3 separate regions of the Homo sapiens genome follow, and regions 1 and 2 are each linked to region 3. The links are contacts of gene promoters, found by promoter capture Hi-C in blood cells and fetal thymus (Javierre and others, 2016). All regions are on one chromosome and are shown on one strand. The core of a region is centred on a gene start or on the middle of the fragment in contact, and the rest is flanking DNA. Distances in the headings are between cores, read along the strand shown.

The links. The method cuts DNA at HindIII sites, captures the fragments that hold promoters and counts their contacts. A CHiCAGO score of 5 or more calls a contact.
Region 1: a contact is called between the fragment with the promoter of KTI12 here and the fragment with the promoter of ZYG11B in region 3, in 5 of 17 cell types (fetal thymus, total CD8 T cells, activated CD4 T cells and 2 more). The highest score is 8.1, in fetal thymus.
Region 2: a fragment that was not itself captured here is called in contact with the fragment with the promoter of ZYG11B in region 3 in 2 of 17 cell types (total CD8 T cells and total CD4 T cells); the score reaches 6.4 in total CD8 T cells.

Annotation. Positions count from the first base shown.
Region 1 is chr1:52,032,046-52,035,473 of GRCh38, forward strand. It overlaps KTI12 (KTI12 chromatin associated homolog), which reads right to left and starts at 1,765. Exons shown (of 1, transcript NM_138417.3): 1 at 58-1,765. The coding sequence starts at 1,716. The coding sequence ends at 652. All of the region lies in intron 2 of TXNDC12 (thioredoxin domain containing 12), which reads right to left. RefSeq lists an enhancer at 1,472-1,771. The HindIII fragment of the contact is 2,616 bases long and covers 1-2,467 here.
Region 2 is chr1:52,145,312-52,148,871 of GRCh38, forward strand. All of the region lies in intron 1 of ZFYVE9 (zinc finger FYVE-type containing 9), which reads left to right. All of the region lies in intron 4 of LOC107984956 (collagen alpha-2(I) chain-like), which reads left to right. Among named protein-coding and RNA genes, the nearest start is that of ZFYVE9, 5.0 kb to the left of the region's middle. RefSeq lists an enhancer at 2,550-3,083. The HindIII fragment of the contact is 2,737 bases long and covers 71-2,807 here.
Region 3 is chr1:52,723,940-52,727,857 of GRCh38, forward strand. It overlaps ZYG11B (zyg-11 family member B, cell cycle regulator), which reads left to right and starts at 2,514. Exons shown (of 14, transcript NM_024646.3): 1 at 2,514-2,744. The coding sequence starts at 2,715. RefSeq lists a silencer at 2,325-2,904. The HindIII fragment of the contact is 1,298 bases long and covers 2,331-3,628 here.

The DNA.
Region 1 (3,428 bases), core at 515-3,014, 690 kb before region 3:
TATACCTAAAATGTTACATGAAGTTACACAGGGAACATTAAGTGAAAGAGATTCCAGTAGACTATTTTAAAAGATTTTATTAGAGGAAATAATCTAGTAGATAACTTTCTTACTTCCACAAAAACAAAGTTTCTCAAGGATACAAACCAATGGATTTATCTGTGAACTCGGTCCCAGAATAGAAACTAGCAAAAAGTCAGTACAGTACTCAAAAAATACTTTTGTGGTATGAAAAAAGGGCAGGTGCAGATGTAGAACTGTACCATCTTCAGTTTCTGTTCACAATTGTTTTAAAACAATTCTCATCTATCCAGTCTGCTCTCCCACGCCTCAGATGAGGGAAGCCAATGGTCAATGCTCTGTGATAGCCCAAGTAGGATCCAATCTAGGTAATCCCTGTCCACCTTAGCTCTGTCCTCTGAGGGATTTGCCAGGTTGCACCACAATAGTTCTCCATTCTCTTTAGTCTGAACTTATGCTGTAAACCCAAGGCCTGGCACAGGGGTATGCAGGAAAGTTTGAGTGAATCAGTCACAACAGCTCTAGTACAGTACTGCATCGATATGCTCTGGAGACCTGCAGCCTATTTTTCCCAGAGAAATAAAGTGGAGTGGAGATCAGAAGCCATGGCTTCCCCCCTACCTCCTCTGGTCAGTGCAGGCTCTGGCTCAAATACTGAAGAAACATGTTGGCCAGTTGCGGCAAGTTCTCATTGTTGGGATGCATTTTAGTGTACGAAATAAACTGGCGACGAAGGCGACTCAGTTCTGCCATGGTCAAGGGCCGGGTAAACCGCAAGTGCTCTGTGGTACCAGGAAGCGTGAGCAAGTCCCCGGGGACAGCGCTCTTCTGCGCTTCCATCAATCCGGCCAGTACTTGACTCGTGACCTGGTCCAACTGGTGCAGAAAGCTGCCGGAGGCGAGGGGCTGGGACTGCGTAGACTGATGGGGTGGTGGGGCCCGGTTCTCAAACAGGGCAGAGCGGATCCCCGCCAGGGGCAACGGCTCCTCTAGGCCCACCAAAGTGAATAAAGGCCGGTCCCAGCGATTCCGAGAATCGGGAGCCTCAAAGCGCAGCGTTAGGGCCTCCAGGAGTTCGGGAGAGTAAAAGGCACCGGACCCATGCTTTGCAGATTTCTCTGAATCCGGAGTCACAAGAGCTGGAGACTCCGCAGCCCCGGATTCTTCTCGCTCCAGTTCCTTGGGTACGTCGGCCTGGGCACTTCCATTTACTACAGAGTCCGCAGTATGCAGTTCCCTGAGGACGCTGCTGCCCGCCGCCTGGGCTCTCCCGTCCTCCTCAGCGCGTGGCCGCCAACTCACACTGACGTTCCGGCCAGGGTTCTCGTTCGCGCCCGCCACCTGAGGTCCCGCGATCGGGCCGCCGGGCCGTACGCAGTAGACCAGGCAGAGCGGGGTGCGCGCCGCCCGTGCCAGGCAGTAGAGCTCGTAACGGAAACCTTTGATGTAGTTAAGCGAGTCCAGGATGACCACGTCGTGGCGACTCAGGCGCCGTTCCACGGAGGCTCGCAGAGCTCCACGCAATGCCTTCTCACGGGCAGAATCGCCGTACACCGCTGGGTCCTCTGCGCCCAGGACAGCTGCGTCGTCCACCACGTACACCGCGCGGCCCTCGGCAGCCAGCGCCACGCGCAACTCTTCAGCACGCCGGCTCTTGCCGCTGTACGGCAGCCCGCAAAACACCACGAGCGGCATCCTCTCAGGGAGCGACCATTGGCAACCGCGCTGCGCCAACTTCCGGGTTGTACGCGTCTCCGACGTAAGCCGGAAGTGCAAACTGCTCTTCCTGTCTCCCTTGACTTTTACAGACCCTCTTGTTTCTATGGAAACAGGAGTTCTACGCCAGCTAGGCCCAGGTTCAGCTTTCTCAGAAAGGAGATACAGAGACTATAATGGCATCAGTTATTTATGCCAAATGTTATAGGCCTCAGGAGAATGTGATCTTCCTGCAGCGAAAGACTGCCCGTCCATTTTATTAATAAGGCCTAAGGGGCATTAAATATTGTAAGCAATCAGCACTATATTTAGCATATAGAAGGCAATTAATAAATGCTGGTTCTCCTTCATTCCTCCTCTTAAACCTACTGGCTCTCAGTAAATGTTTATTCAATTACCATTTCAATCATTCAACATCTCCAAGGTTGGGAATTCAGAGATGAACATAAAACGCTTTCCCCACAAAAGATAAAAGGTCTGAATGGGAAGGATCAGGCGCCTACAATCAGAGTAATAAATACTATAATGGATAGATGCAGGTGAGGTTATAAAAGAACAGAAGGGAAAAACAAACTACCCAGAGAAATCACTGAAGACTTTATGTAGAAATAGTCATTTGACTTAGAACTTGAAAGACAAATAGGAATTTTTCTCCTTAGTAGGGTTGCCAGATAAAATACAGGATGCCCAGTTACATTTGAATTTCAGATAAACACCAAAAACATTTTTAAGCTTAAGTGTGTCCCAAATATTGCATAGACATATTTAAAATTATTTGGTGCTTATCTAAACTTCAAATTTAACTGGGCATCTTTAATTTATTATTATTATTTATTTTTTCTTTTTTAGAGATGAGGTTGTATGTTGCTAAGGCTGGTCTCAAACTCCTGGGCTCAAGTAATTGTGCCACCTCTGCCTCCCAAAGTACTGGGAATACAGGTGTGTGAGCCAAGGTGCCTGGCCTGCATCCTTTATTTTATTTTATTATTATTATTTTTTGAGATGGAGCCTCGCTCTGTCACCCAGCCTGGACCACAGTGGTATGATCTCAGCTCCCTGCAACCTCCACCTCCTGAGTTCAAGCGATTCTCCTGTCTCAGCCTCCCAAGTAGCTGGGACTATGGGTGTGCGCCACCATATCTGGCTAATTTTTGTATTTTTAGTAGAGACGGGGTTTCACTATGTTGGCCAGGCTGGTCTCAAACTCCTGACCCCAGGTGATCCACTGGCCTTGGCTTCCCAAAGTGCTGGGGTTAAAGGCATGAGCCACTGTGCCTGGCCATCCGTTATTTTTATTTGCTCAATCTGGCAACTCTATTATTGTAGGTTTGAGACCCAGAGCCATGAAACTGTTGGATCTCTTGTATAAACAGCAAGCACTATAGGATGGTAGGTGCAGAAATGTGAGTGTGCCTGTGCATGTGTGTATATTGTAGATGCACATATACTGGGGTCTTTGTATCTCTCTTGTACAGTATAGTAAAAAACATTCAAGTCTTGGCTCCTCCACTTACTAGTGTTGTAACTACTGGCAAATTATGTAACTTTTCTGTACTTCAATTTCCCCTTCTATAAAATAACAACTGCTATTTCACAGGTTTACCAATCTGTAGGTTGTTGTGAGGGTTAAATAAATGTAAACACAGGCCCGGCATGGTGGCTCGCGCCTGTAATCCCAGCACTTTGGGAGG
Region 2 (3,560 bases), core at 189-2,688, 580 kb before region 3:
CATTCCATTCAGTAAACTTTTATGTGGCACCTTGTAAACGTGCTAGCCACAGACTGGTTGCAAGGCACAAAGCTTGTTTAAAAGATAATTGCCTGGATTTTAGCTTAAGTTCTTATGTTCCTAAAGATATGGCGTATATATGTGTGTTTTATGGTTGTTAATTGCATAATGTGGTACAGAGTATGGAGTCAGATGTGAGCAGGAATCCTTACTACACCTCTTAAAGCGATGTGACATTTAGATTCTGAGTTTCTTATGTACTATTGGGGTAACACTACCCCTCCTAGCAAAGTAGAACAGGTTCCATGAGATAAAAGTAACCGAAAGCAATTAGCTCAGTGTTTGTCATGTAGGAGGTGCTCAATAAATGTACATTTCTTTCTTCCTTTTGGGAAAAACAAAAATCAGGCATTGGGATTTCTGCATGACTTAAAACTTGGTTGCTTTATTTTTTTTAGACTAAGTCTACTTTTGGGATTTGGAATTTTTTATGGAAAACAATTTCGATTTTAGTATGTTTTCCATTTCATTTTTAGCCAATAAATTAGTATTCCCTTTATATAGGGTACACTTGTTGCAAATTATTTATTTTCAGAGTTTTACATTGATCTTTAATTTTACTTGTGTATACTTGACCTGCATTATATAGAGCAACATTCTTAGTACAGTCAGATCTCTGTATCTGTGGGTCCTCCCAGCCAAGGCTCAAAAATATCCACACACACACACACACACACACACACACAAAAGTAATCATACAATAATAAAAATAATACAAATAAAAACCCAATACAGTATAACAGTTGATTTGCATAGCACTTACAATTGTATTTGGCATTGTAAGTAGTCTAGAGATTATTTAAAGTATACAGGAGGATGTTCATAGGTTATATGCAAATACTGTGCCATTTTATATAAGGGATTTGAGCATCCACAGATTGTGGTATCCTGTGGGTTCCTGGAACCAGTCCTCCACAGATACAGAGAGACAACTGTATATAATAATCATTGGAAAAGATGTAGTTGCAGGCACTGAATAGAAATAGTTCATATATTTAGTTTTCAAAAAACTCTCAATTTATTAAATTTACTTAAGAACTGTTTTCAGAACATAGATTTTTCCTTATAAACTACAGTAGGCTAGAACTAGATTTTATAGCCTGCCAGTCTTTTCTTATAACCTTGGACAAGTTTGTTACCCTCTTTAAGTCTCAATTTTCTTTTCTATAAAATGCAACTGATAATAGTCACCTTACAGGATTATTGTAAGTATTAAATGATATAATGGGTAAATCAGAGCTATAGTTCAGTCCCATGAGTCCTGGTAAATCCGGACTCTGGAATTGGAAAATATATTTCTCTGAGTTTTGAAAAAAAGAGGTTGAAAGATTGTTAATTATTTATGTAGTTTACTATTAATAAGTAAAATCAGCATAATCTAATTTTGAAGTATTAGAGATTGCTAAATTAAGGAGGAACCAAGGTGTCAGTAGAATTAGCATTTAGTTATGTAGTAGAATACCTTATATTTTATAATGGTAAAATTTATTTAATAAAATAATTTGAAAAGTGCTGTTTTTACAGGTTGAGCATCCCTAATCCAAAAGTCTGAAATTCGAAATGCTCAAAGGTCCAAAACTTTTTGAGCACTGACATGATCTCACAAGTGGAAAAATTCCACGCCTGATCTCATGTGATGGGTCACAATCAAAATGGTCAAAACTTTGTTTCATGTACAAAATTATTAAAAATAGTGTATAAAGTTACCTTTAGGCTATGCGTATAAGTATACATGAAACAAATGAATTTTGTGTTTAGACTTGCGTCAGAATTCTAATCTGTCCCAAATGCTTCTGGTTCCAAGTATTTTAGATAAGGGATACTCAACGCATAAAGTATTTTCTATTTTACAAATTAATTAATACTTATATTTTTCTTTTAAATTATGGTAAATAGCCCATTTACGGAACTGGAAAAGTTAGAACAGTATTATATATTCACAGAGTTGTGCAAACATCACTGCTGTCTAATTTTAGAACATTTTAATCACTCCAAAGAGAAACTTGTACCCATTAACAGTCACTCCCAGGATCTCCCTAATCCTCCCAGCCCTAGGCAACCGCTAATGTACTTTCTGCCTCTATGGATTTGCCTATCGAGACATTTCATGTAAGTGGAATCATACGATATATGACTGGTTTCTCTTACTTAGCATAATAGTTTTAGGGTTCAGTAGCAAGTGTCAGTACTTCATTTCTTTTTATTGCTGAATAATATTCCATTGTATGGAAATACCACATTTTATTCATCAGTTAGGGCTGTTTCCACTTTTTGGCTACTATAAATAATGTTGTTGTGAACATTCATGTGCAAATTATTGTGTGGAAATATGCTTTCATTTCTCTTGGGTATTTATAGGGATGGAATTGCTGGGCCAAATGGTAGCTGTATGTTTAACCTTTCGAGAAACTATCAGATTGTTTTTACAAAGTAGCTGCACCTTTTTACAATCCCACCTGCGTTGTATGAAGGTTCCAATTTCTTCACGTCCTCACCAACACTTGTTATCTGTTTTTTTGATTATAACCATCCTAATGAGTGTGAAGTGGTAATGTAAGGCTCTATCTGCGGTTCATAACTTTTTTTTTTTCAATAGAGGCGAGGTTTCATTATGTTGGCTAGGCTGGTCTGGAGCTACTAACCTCAAATGATCCACCCACAGCCTCCCAAAGTGCTGGGATTACAGGCATGAGCCACCATGCTCCTGGTTAATAACTTTTATTTACAGTCATTAGGTAAATTGTTGAAGCTTTTACTTGCAGATGCATTGCCAGATTCTTTGATGATAGGGAATGTTTTTGGCCTGAGGATAAAAGTTGTAGGCCAGGCGCTGTGGCTCACGCCTGTAATCCCAGCACTTTGGGAGGCTGAGGTGGGCCGATCGCCTGAGGTCAGGAGTTCGAGACCAGCCTGGCCAATATGGTGAAACTCTGTCTCTCCTGAAAATACAAGCCTTTCGGTTCAAAATCACCACTATATGGTGGCAGATACCTGTAATCCCAGCTACTTGGGAGGCTGAGACAGGAGAATTGCTTGAACCAGGGAGGCGGAGGTTGCAGTGAGCCAAGACTGCACCATTGCACTCCAGCCTGGGCAAGAAGAGCGAAACTCCATCTCAAAAACAAAAAAAGCTGTAAACTTTCTAGTTTCCTGTTTAGTAAACAGTGAACTCTGGTTAATAGAACTGATTAACCACATTGGGTGGTGATAGGAATGGTGGTGTGAGGACTTCAGCTGTATAAAAGGCTGTCTTCTATTAATATGAATATTTCTTTCTTTTTTTTTTTTGAGATGGAGTCTTGCTCTGTTGCCCAGGCTGGAGTGCGGTGGCGCAGTCTTGGCTCACTGCAACCTCTGTCTCCCAGATTCAAGCGATCCTCCTGCCTCAACCTCCCTGGTAGCGGGGACTACAGGTGCGCGCCACCATGCCTGGATAAGTTTTGTAATTTTAGTAGCGACGGGATTTCACCATGTTGGCCAGGCCGGTCTCAAACTGACCT
Region 3 (3,918 bases), core at 1,264-3,763:
CGTGATCTTGGCTCACTGCAACCTAAGGAGGGTTTTTTTGTTTGATTGTTTTAAGATGGAAGAAATAAAATCATGTTGCTATAGCAATGAGAGGTAATAGCAGAAAAATAGCGATGTAGGTGAGAGGAAGAATTGCTGGATAGGTGTCTTTGAGAAAGTGACGTGGTATGAGACCTAGTACTTGAGCTCCTCAAAGTGTCATCAATGGACTAGTGACCATCTAGAAATGGTTTTTCACCAGTTTGTGACAGCAATTCAGAATTAATATTTTGAAACTTTTATAACAATTTGACAGAAAAATGTTACGCGTGTTGGGTTTAATAATAAAAATTCTGCCTAGAGTAGTCAAATTCATAGAGATAGAAAGCAGAACAGTGATGGCGAGGGATTGGGGGAAGTTAGGAATGGGGAGTTATTGTTTAATGAGTACAAGCTTTCAGCTTTGCAAGATAAAAAAGTTCTGGAGGCCTGGCACATTGGCTCACGTCTGTAATCCTAGCACTTTAGAAGTCTGTGGCAGGAGGATTACTTGAGCCTAGGAGTTTGAGACAAACCTGGGCAACACAGTGAGACCTTGTCTCTACAAAAAAAAAAAAAAAAAAAGGTAGCCAGGCGTGGTGGTATGTGCCTGTAGTTCTAGCTGCTTAGGAGGCTGAGGTGGGAGGATCGCTTCAGCCCAGGAGTTTGAGGCTGAGTGAGCCGTGATTGTGCCACTGTACTCCTGATGGGTGACAGGGTAAGAACTTGTCTCAATAAATAAATAAATAAATAAATAAAAGAAAAAATAAAAAGTTCTGGAGCTTCTTGATGGGGATGGTTGCACAACAATGTGAATGTATTTAATACCATTGAACTGTACACTTTAAAATGGTTAAGCAGGTTTAAAAAATCTGGGCTTGCATTTTGGATGCTTGTTTTTAAATTTTAATTTTTTCTAGTAATTAATTTTGATTGTATTTTACAGAAATTTAGTTTTGTGATTGGGGATAAAATCTGGGTCTTTTAGCACAGATGCTTGAGAACTGAGGAGGATTTGATGTTAGCTAAAAGACAAATAATTAACTTGTAGTAAGGAAAGGAAGGCAGAGAGAGCATCAAAGCAGAGTTACAGGTTCGTTGGAAGTCATGGTGGGTGCTGGGAACTTGTAGATGTTCTTTTTGGTTTGTTTGATTTTCTTGTGAATTAGAAGCAAAATCATCAGCTAAATGAGATGAGGGAGGAAGTGTCGGAGGTTTGAAGAGACAGGAGACTTGAAATAGTTATGTAGCAAGGTGGGAGAGTGTGTGAAACTGGAGAAATGTGGTAGGGTAGCCACTCATTATGGCCTCTTGAGAATAATGATCTCAAATTTACGGGGAGTCAGTCAACCACTTTTGGCTTTTTCTCCACCCACTCCATTGCTGGAGTTCTGTCAGTACAAAGAAAGCAGAGAACGACTAGAGAAATGAAGGTAATACTGAAGAAATCGACTTCATGTACCTCATGTACTCACTTTCTTCCCCAAACAGCTTAGATTCTATTAGATTCCATTTCATGACGGACGATAGAATCTAAGCTGTTTCAGGAAGAAAGTGAGTACATAAGGCCAGCGTGGGGAGGAATAGCGAAAAGGTAGTTGGATCAATGGATTTGGGGTCTTGGAGTTGAAGTTTTTGGAGTTGGAGTATTATCAGACAGAGTGAGCTAGAAAGGAAGAAGGTTGTGGCCGGGCGCAGCGGCTCACGCCTGTAATCCCAGCACTTTGGAAGGCCAAGGCAAGCGGATCACCTGAGGTCAGGAGTTCGAGACCAGCCTGGCCAACATGGTGAAGCCACTTCTCTACTAAAAATACAAAAATTAGCCGGGTGTGGTGCCGGGTGTTTGTAATCCCAGCTACTCGGGAGGCTAAGGCAGGAGAATCACTTGAACCCGGGAGGTGGAGGTTGCAGTGAGCCAAGATCGCACCACTGCACTCCAGCCTGGGCAACAAGAGCGAAACTCCATCTCAAAAAAAAAAAAAAAAAAGAAAGAAAGAAAGAAAGAAAGAAAGGAAGAAGGTTGCAATGGGAGTTAGAGGATTAAAATTGAGATTGTAGAGAAGTTACAATTATTCGTATGAGCATGAGAGTGAGAGGCTGAGCCAAGAATGATCCCTAGAGAAGAATCTGAGAGGCCAGAGGATTGGAAGAATTAAGCGAATTTTGAAATAACCAAGAGTTATGACAATAGTAGTAATGAATGACAGTGAACCAGAAGCCCAAATCTTAGAGAATGATGGTGAATGACAGAGGAGTCTATAGGTGACCGAAGTGAGCGATGCTCTAATCTCTCGTCATGATGTAATATTTAAAGCTTTTCATATTTTGAAGGGATGCTAGGATTTGGGGGTGTGTGGCTCCTTTAAGGGCCTGGGAGGGGGAGAAGCTGGAGGTCGGGCTGGGGGGGGCGGGACCCCCTCGTCTGAGTCTGCGCATTGAGAGCGGAGGCGGGTCCAGGCGCGGGCTCGCGCGCCCGGGCGGGTCCTCGCGGGGGCGGAGTCTGCGCTCTGGTTCGGGCTGCGGCTGCGGCTGCGGCTGCGGCTGCTACTGCTACGCTCCTAGCTTGAGGGAAAGAGGCCGAGGCCTGGGCCAAGCCCGGAGCCGCCGCTCGCCGGAGCCTCCTGGAGCCTCCGCGCCGGCTCAGCCTGGGGGCGGGCTCCGGTCCGGCCCGCCGCCGCACCCAGGACGGAGGCTGCATGCCCGAGGACCAGGCCGGCGCAGCCATGGTGAGGGAGCAAGGCCTGCCCTAGCCGCAGCCGCCCGCCACCCTAGCCCCCGCCCGTCGCGCTGGCCCCTGCGGTCTTGCCCCTCCCTGTCTCTGGTGTCCCCTCGGGCTCCCTGCCTTTACCTCTCTCCCTCGTTACCGCCCCCTCGGTGTTCAGCTCCTCCTTCCCCATTCACCTGCTTCGGTGAACCCCTTTAGGTGACACCCCCTGAATCTCCCTTCTCCCCGATGACATCCTTTTTATCACCCCCAGTGACAGCCTTTTTCGCATTCCCTTTGTCGCCCACTCCTTGTCCTTTAACCCTAACCCTTCCTTTCTTTCTCCTCTATCATTTTGCCTTTTTTCCTCTTATGTGATTTTTACTTTCCCCCCTTTCCTCCCTAGTTTTCGCTGCTCTTCCTTGCTCTTCTCACCCCTCTTCACCATTTTATCTCCACTGCCCCCTTCTCTCCGTGTTCCTTCTCCCCTTCGTCCTCTTCCATCCACGTTTCCTCTTCCCTTATCGGATGTCCTCGCTCGGTTCGCCGTCGCAGCTGTCCCCATTTCCTTCTACGGGCTTCAGGGGTCTAAGCAGGAACAATTTGAGGACTGTTGCTTCCCGGGAGCTGTAGGGCGGGCAGATAGGGATTTATAGGTTTGCTTCTTCCTTTTCGTTTTTGGAGGCATTGAAGAGATCCTGGAAGCCTATTCACCTAGTGTCATTGCAAAATCGAAGTGGTGGTGTGTTACAGAGCAGTGAAGTGAGGGCCAGCATGCATACTGTGACCTCAGGAGAGATCTAGTCTTTTGACAGAAATAGCTAAAAAATGTTTTGAATTTTTTTTATTTTGAGCATCTTTTAATGTGGAGGTGCAGTTGGAGAAGTTTAAAAATACTTATTTACAAGCTTGGCTATTATTACTAAAAACAAATGATTTGTTTTCATTTGGAGGCAGAGACCAAGGGCATTTGAGGACTGACAATCAGGTTGGCAGGTTGTGACAGTCTCTTTAAACCTTCTAAAGAGTTCATTTGTTTTGCCCTGTCTGCCTTTAGTTGGGAGAACCTTATATTTGCAAATTTTCTTTCTGTCTGAAAATAGGTTGAGGCTTCAGTTGGTTTTTTCATTGAGTTGGGTTATAAGTGGTTTGCTGTACATTTATTGAAAACATTGCTCCATCATATGCAACAAGCT